Linked DNA regions of Homo sapiens: region 1 is linked to region 2. Evidence: promoter capture Hi-C in human tissues and cell types (Jung and others, 2019). All regions are on one chromosome and are shown on one strand. Each heading gives the region's core, a stretch centred on a gene start or on the middle of the fragment in contact. The rest is flanking DNA. Distances are from core to core; before and after follow the strand shown. Region 1 overlaps ZMPSTE24 (zinc metallopeptidase STE24). Region 2 holds the start of CAP1 (cyclase associated actin cytoskeleton regulatory protein 1).

The links. Contacts are between HindIII fragments. The study calls those that stand out against the background at their distance.
Region 1: a fragment that was not itself captured here is called in contact with the fragment with the promoter of CAP1 in region 2 in 2 of the 25 tissues and cell types used here (heart left ventricle and mesendoderm cells).

The regions. Positions count from the first base shown.
Region 1 is chr1:40,291,827-40,295,774 of GRCh38, forward strand. It overlaps ZMPSTE24 (zinc metallopeptidase STE24), which reads left to right. Exons shown (of 10, transcript NM_005857.5): 10 at 619-2,354. The coding sequence ends at 843. Among named protein-coding and RNA genes, the nearest start is that of COL9A2, 23 kb to the right of the region's middle. The HindIII fragment of the contact is 5,120 bases long and covers 1-3,948 here.
Region 2 is chr1:40,038,762-40,042,756 of GRCh38, forward strand. It overlaps CAP1 (cyclase associated actin cytoskeleton regulatory protein 1), which reads left to right and starts at 1,968. Exons shown (of 13, transcript NM_006367.4): 1 at 1,968-2,040. LOC105378669 (a long non-coding RNA gene) reads right to left here and starts at 1,685. Exons shown (of 3, transcript XR_001738013.3): 1 at 130-1,685. RefSeq lists enhancers at 986-1,619, 1,588-1,657, 1,620-2,254, 1,908-2,107, 2,178-2,267. The HindIII fragment of the contact is 19,514 bases long and covers 1-3,995 here.

The DNA of each region.
Region 1 (3,948 bases), core at 814-3,313, 250 kb after region 2:
TATCTTAAAACTCTTTTTTTTTTTTTTTTTTTAAGATGGAGTCTCGCTCTGTCTCCCAGGCTGGAGTGCAGGGGTGTCATCTTGGCTCACTGCAACCTCCGCCTCCCGGGTTCAAGCAATTCTCCTGCCTCAGCCTCCTGAATAGCTGGGACTACAGGCACCCATCACCACGCCCAGCTAATTTTTGTATTTTTACTAGAGACAGGGTTTCACCATGTTGGCCAGGTTGGTCTCGAACTCCTGACCTCAGGTGATCCACCTGCCTCAGCTTCCCAAAAGTGCTGGGATTACAGGTGTGAGGCACCACACCCGGCCTGAGCATGACTTTTGAGTCTCATGTCAGCACTCAAAAGTTTCAGATTTTGGAACATTTCAGATTTCAAGTTTTTGGTTAGGGATGTTTAACTTTTATATGTGTTTCTGGCCTGTTTGCTTGGGGGAGAATAAGGCTCAATTTATAATTTCCTCACCCTAGGTCCCCTAAATATTAGTGATCTTTCTTTTGTCCTGCCATTCCTCTTATCCCAAGCCAAACTTCTCTACAGTCTCAGCTCATGGAACCTTTAGTAACAACAAAGAGGTGGGCAGTGGCTAAAACCCTTTCATTTTCTTTTTCAGGTTCTTTCTTTTTGCCTAACAGTCCTAAGCCGCAGATTTGAGTTTCAAGCTGATGCATTTGCCAAGAAACTTGGGAAGGCTAAAGACTTATATTCTGCTTTAATCAAACTTAACAAAGATAACTTGGGATTCCCTGTTTCTGACTGGTTGTTCTCAATGTGGCATTATTCTCATCCTCCACTGCTAGAGAGACTTCAAGCTTTGAAAACTATGAAGCAACACTGAGATGTCCAGGATCTGTGACTGAAGACATTTCTGATTATTTCTGTCCTGGCAGCATGTTCCAGCTCTTGATGTTTTTAAACTTTTTTTTAGAAGAAAAATTAAGTACAGAAAAGCCCAGATTTAAATACATTTAATATGTCATTTTAAAAATGATTTTAATAATTCATTTCTTAAAACACTGAATGAATTTTGAAGCTTAATGTTTTTAAAGGCATAGTTTTATCTTTGACATCTAATTTACCATCAAGTTGTAAAATTATTTGGAAAAATACAGAACTCGTTTTATTTGTATACTTATATGGAATCTGCATGTGAGGTGTTTGAGGGCATATGTTTGAAAGAGGGAGCATCACCACAGGAATCCTTTCTGTGAGGTGGAAACAGTGGTCCTGAATCATTGTGCTCACACCTAACTTGAAATCTGGTCTTACTTTCATGCTGTTATGATTTCACCTGGTGAATCAGTGTTTTAAATAAGAAAGGTAATAGTTGGTAAGGCCAATGTTATTTAAATGAAAGTAGTTAGAAAAATGCTCTCCTATTCTACCAAATTTTTAATTTCTTTCTTCCCTTTCTTGCTACACAGTGATCAAGAGTTTCTCATAGTGCTTTGAAGTTAGAAATTATGTATAGGATATTTTAAATCATTGAGTTTTGTGGGGTTTTTTTGTTTGTTTGTTTCTTTTGTTTTTTGGAAAATCCGTGTCTTTATCTTTTTTTCCCACGTGGTAGATATGATCCCATTGGAGGTAAATTGTAGCTTCTTCTCATTCATGCAGTAAATAATACATCCTTTCACTCAGCAGAGATGGCCATATTAAACACGTTTTGCTATGTTAAAAGTGGCAGAACAGGAAAGACGAATTAAAAATAACATTTTTTAAGCGACATAAGGATGAAATACTGATGAATCTCTGTGACATTACAGGGAAAAAAATATAGTTTTCTATCTCTTTCAAGGGCAGAAGAGTTTTCATTTTTATTTTTGTAATTTTATCTGTAAGTCATAAATATTACTTAATCAGGCCTGATTCTACTTTTGAAAATTACAGTTCTTGAAATGCAGATAATGTTTACTTTGAAAACAAATGTCATGAATGATTTCCAGTTTTTAAAGCTATATGTTTCACTGCTTCATATCTCTGTCCACTTTCTGAATGAGAACTTATTTTGTGCCTAGAGCTCTCACTCACTGATAATGCTTATTACCTTCTGGGCATTTATTCCAAAGTGGGATCAACTGTACGCCTTTGGTATCTGACCATAAAGTCTTTTGCTCCGCTGACATTTGGGTGATGTCTTCACATGGAAATATAATAAAAATAAAAATCTAGTTTAATACTGCATTATTTATTTTCCTAAGGCTAAAGAGGAGCAGTCCTATGCTTTTATTCAGCATCCTTTATCTGTGACTTCATGCTCTGATAACTGCCTTTCCTTCCTTCTGTGCCTTTGAATACAAATTTCAGTTCTGCAAAAGTGAAACATTAAACATTGCCAACGCAAATGTATGTACTTTGTCTTTAGTTTGATATTTGTGTATCATTTTTTTAATTTGTGTATCATTTGTTACCTGAACATATGTTTATTACCTGAGAGGAACTGGGTGCTAGCAATGAAGAGTGGAATGAAGAAATAGCCCTAATGATGAGTGGTGTCAGTGCCACCACTGTGCTTTACACAGAGTCTCTTCAGTGTCTTGCTCCTGCTTTGCTCCAGAGTATCACCAGTTCTTGCAGATATTTCCTTGGAAGCTTCATTTGGAATCATTCCTTCTCTATTTTTATAACCTCAAATTGTTGGGCCTGCCTGGTCTGCTCCAGCTGCCTCTTTGGTTTTCCTTACATATGGTGGCAGTAATTAGCTTTTAAATATGTGACTGACTTAGTCACCCACACTTTATGGATGGCAGAGGCATAGGGATGGCCAAAAGGATACTGGTAGGTTCCTAAGAAATTGACCAATCAAGGGAAGAGTAGATAGGCCCACCAACGAAGGAATAGATGGCACTCTGCACCCTAAGAAAGACCTGGTGGATGTGCAGCAGGGGCAAAATTGAGTAGGTCAAAGCCTTGGGTAAAATGGCACAACTCCAGCAGAGTTAAGCTCTGAATCTAAGGTTGAATCTCTGTTGTGTGTATATACTGGCTTTATCTGAGTTGGCCCTTTGCTGAGGTCTGAGAACTGCTTGTAAATTCTGCCTCTGTTTAGGATAGGAGAATTCCCAGGATCAGTTCAGTGGTTTTAGTACCAAATGATGGTCCCCGCTTGCCCTTATATTTTATATGCTCACTGTTACCCCTGATCCTACATGTGATATTCCCCTCCCTGTGGAAACCTTCTACTTGCTTTTTTTGTTTTTGTTTTTTTTGAGAAGAAGTTTCTCTCTTGTTGTCCAGGCTGGAGTGCAATGCCCCGATCTCAGCTCACCGCAACCTCCGCCTCCTGGGTTCAAGCGATTCTCCTGCCTCAGCCTCCCAAGTAGCTAGGATTACAGGCTTGCGCCACCACGCCTGGCTAATTTTTTGTATTTTTAGTAGAGATGGGGTTTCACCATGTTGCCCAGGCTGGACTGCAATGGTGCGATCTCGGCTCACTGCAACCTCCACCACCCAGGTTCAAGAGATTCTCCTGCTTCAGCCTCTTGAGTAGCTGGGATTACAGGCATGTGAGCCACCACATCCGGCTAATTTTTGTATTTTTTTCTTTTCTTTCTTTTTTTTTAAGACTCTCTGTCTCTCTGTCACCCAGGATTGAGTGTAGTGGCATGATCTTGGCTCACTGCCACCTCTGCCTCCCAGGTTCAAGTGATTCTCCTGCTTCAGCCTCCCGAGTAACTGAGATTACAGGCATGGGCCAATACACCTGGCTAATTTTTGTATTTTTAATAGAGACGGGGTTTCTCCATGTTGGCCAGGCTGGTCTCAAACTCCTGACCTCAGGGGATCCGCCCACCTTGCCCTCCCAAAGTGCTGGGATTATGGGGTGAGCCACCGTGCCCAGCAAATTTTTGTATTTTTTAGTAGAGATGGGGTTACTCCATGTTAGCCAGGCTGGCCTCAAGCTCCTGACCTTGTGATCTGCCTGCCCTGGCCTCCCAAAATG
Region 2 (3,995 bases), core at 718-3,217:
GGACATTCCTTAGGGCAGGGGTTGTAACTTAAGTCGTGTGTGCATTCTTTATAATGAAGCATTTTACAAAGTGGTTTCACATACATTACTGCTTCCGTTTCTCATTACAGCCCCATTAATATTCCCCACCTGATGAGGAAACTTTCTTCATTCTCCTTCCTGCTTCCTCTTCTCTCTCCTCTTCCTCTAGAATGCGTGTATGGTCTATGTTCCTTCTGTCTCTAATCCAGAAAGAGATTTAGAATAACTAAATGCAGAGTCAAAGATTATGTCCAAATAAAGTTAGAGTTTGTGTGTGTGTGAGACAGTGTTTTTAGTTAAATGTCAATATTTAAAATATACTATGACTTTTATACCATATTTTTTCATGTTGTCATGTTCTTTTAAACATGCTGGGAGCCATAAAGTTAGGAAGAGGCCCAGTAACCCGTCCAAAGTAACCTGACCAAAGTCTGACCCCTAGTAGAGGGCCTATGCCAGCACTGGAACCCAGTGTCTCCAGATCCAGAGGCATTCACCACCTCAAATCTGCCTCAAATGTCTGCAGTATGGTCTATCACAGGGGCTAATTAAGCTCATGGGATTTAGAGTCAGACAGATGTGTTTCCTTCAAAGTTTCAACAGTTACTTTCTGACCTTGGCAAGTTATTCAGCTTCCTCATTTGAAAACTAGAGGGCATAATGGTACCTACCACCGAGAGTTGCTATTAGGAGTAAATGAAAATACGCTTGAAGAACTCAGCATGGGCCTGGCAAGTAGTCAGCGTGCAGTAAATGGTAGCTGTTATTTTAAGAACTTTATTTGTTGAATGATTGACTCTGGCACATAACGCCTGCATTCAACTTGAAACACGGAGCTGTCACAGTCGTTCAGCTGAAGGGGCGGGAACTGTGGCACTTGCCAATTTTTTCTAGAAATAAATCTTTGTGGGAGGATAATGACCGGTTGGAGAGTGTGAGTCTTGAGGGAACAAAGATCGGATCTCCCGGCCCAAGGAGTACGGAAGCGAAGCCTCCCCTGCGCGCGGCAGCCACCGTGCGTAACCTCCCCTGAACCGAGTAGCAGCCGCCTGAGCCCACCCAGCCCTGGGCGAGGCTGCCTCAGAAGCCGGATTTCAGCAGAGTGGGTGCAGGATCTGCTTTAATTCTGCTCATCTTATTCTCGGGGACCACACCCTGCGCGCCGGGAGGAAGGGCTCCAAAACCACAGGGCGGAGGCTTCCGCGCGGCCCCAGACTTGACCATCTATGGTCACAGAACACACCGACCAAACAGGAAGTGGGGTGAGAGCGGAGGGTTCCCTACCTTCCCAGCCCCGCGACTGCCAGCCGGGCTGGGGCTGACCCACCGCGCCCTCACTGACCCCCACGCCCTGCGCCCAGTCTCCGCAAGTCCTCCCACAACAATGTCCAGACTAATTGCCTTCCCACGTCACAAACGGGGAAACCGAGGTATGCACGCCCAGAGACAGGCGGAGCGTGGCCTCGATCACCACCGAGAGCTGACGGCCGCCCGGATTCCCGCCCTCAGAGAATCCTGGCCCCCAGTCGTTCCAAGACCCTTTACGGACTGCAGCTTAAAGGAACCGGCCTCTGCCATTGAGACCAAACTGACAGAGGAACTGGTCACTCTTCTGTTCTTTCCAGAGAGGAGCTTAGCCAGGGACTTCTGCCCTTCCTGGGCCCGGGCCTCGGGGGCGATTCCGGGTAGGTAAAGCGGAACGAGGGCGTGGCCTCTCTTGTGAGCCCGCCCTCCCCGTGTCGCTCCCGCCTTGAGGGCGGGGCTCTTTCCCAAGTGCCCTCTGTGAGAGCCGGGCCGCTCTCTCCGGGGCGTGGCGAAGAGGGGCGGAGTCACGAGCGGGGCGGTGAGACTTCCTGCCCAGTCGCGGGCCAGCCTAGCGCTTCAGCCGGCGGCTCATTTCCGGTGGGGGCGCCGCGCCCAGTGAGGGCCCGGAAGTGGGTCGCGCGGAGATTGCTGGGCGGTTCTTGCCGGAAGCGGAGAGCGGCTGATCGCAGTCCGGAGGTGAGGCGGAACTCTGAGGTGAGGGTGTGCAGCTTGGTAGGGATTGGGGTCCCTTCCGGGGCCCATCGGCCCCTGGTGGTGTTAATGGCCCTTCTGGCCTACGCGCGTGTCATGAACCCTGCCGAGAGGGCCGGGGCTGAGGCCCTCAGGCCGACCCGGACTCTTGGGCGCGGTCTCTTGAGGTGGGGCCGGGGTGAGCAGCTGAGTCCGGGTGCCCCGGGGAGGCCCCTCTGCCCGATTTCGCAGCGCTGCCCATCAGCTTCAGCGGAGGCCTGATTCCTGAGGTGCTCTGACTGGAAGGAACCTCCGAGATCGGAGAGTCTTCCCTGTCTCCTGTTGATGCTCCCATTGCACTGATAGGTAAATTGATCCCTAGAGAAGAGGCTAGTCTGAGATATATAGCGAGTGAGGAAAAGAATCGGAATCATGATCCTGGTGCCTTAGATAACCAGCCCCAGTTCTTCCCGTGTTGCTCGGAACCTCTCTAACTTGGGATGGTCTTCCGGTCGGTGTTGCCCCGCAGGCTGCTGCAGGTTAAAGGCCAGCGCTGCGTGGAACTTTTTTTTTTCTCTCCTCCCAAATTGAGCCGTTTGAAATGCCTAGGGAGTTTTTAAAAGAAAGGCGGGCACATCCTTGTATTTACAGGCAGATATCCTCCCTTTCCTCCTCGGCTGCTGCTCTTACTTTGACAAGCCAGGCTAACATTGAAGGTATGTACTTCTGGACCTGAAATCAGACGGCTCAGGTTTGGTCTGGCCTCAGTGCTGAGTGTCTGTGGCCATAGGTGCCTTAAACTTCTTTCAGCCTCCTTTTGTTCATCTTTTAAGTGGAGATCTCTGCTGACCCCACAAGATTAAATTCAGCGTAACAAATTGTGTTTATTCTGTGCCAGCATTTTCCCAGATGCGGGGAATGCAGCTTTAAAACAAAACAATGTAGACCCTGCCCGCGTGGAGCTAGCAGTGTTTGCAGGGATGTTTAAGAAGTAATTATAAATGTTGATGAGTGTTAGGAAAGAACAGGGTGCTCTGAAAGTATGTAACAGGGGGTTCAGGAAAAGCCCTTCTGAAGAAGCAGAGTTTTTAAGATGAATTTTGAAGGATAAATAGGAATGCGTTCGAAGAGTGGAATGAGAACATTTGAGACAGGTTAGCATCAGAACTGTGTCAGTTGAAGCTCTTTGTGGGGCTCTCTCTTCAAGAGAAAATCCGGGGGCATATCAGCACATTTATCATTTACCAGACTTTTATTTAATTTATTTATTTGTATTTTTAGTAGAGATGGGGTTTCGCCGTGAAGGCCAGGCTGCTCTCGAACTCCTAACCTCAGGTGATCCCCCCACCTCGGCCTCCCAAAGTGCTGGGATTACGGGCATGATCCACCGTGCCCGGCCCCACCAGACGTTTATTAAGACCTTAATATGTATGAGGCACATTTTAATGAGATAGCCTTTGTGGCAAAGAATACAGTTCTTCTGGAGTTTACAGTGGGAGAGGAAATAGACAAGTAAATGAGGGATGGCTTACAGTGTCATAGTGCATAGCACAGGGCTACAAGAGCACAGTGGAGAAATACCTGAGCCAGGTGCCCAGGGTTCCAGGAGGAAATGGGAGGCTAACTCTTGAAATATTTATTTAGCTACATAGGGAATCCGGAAAAGGGATTTCCAGGCAGAGACTACTACAGGTGCAAGGACCTGGAGAACCGGACAGCTGAAAGACCATGACGAGTTCAGTGTGACTGGAATTCTAGTAATGGCTGGGGAAGTGGAGGAAGTGAGATGTGGTCAGGTCAGTCATATGTGGAGGACATTGTAAGTCATGCTAAGGAATTTGGATTTTTACCCTGAAAGCTATGGAGATGCTTTGAAGGGTTTTATGCAGGAAAATGATGTCGTCAGATTTATATTTCAGAAAGTTCATTCTGTCAAGTAGGAGGGGACCAGCCCTGTGGGGAAGTAAAACAGTGTTTGG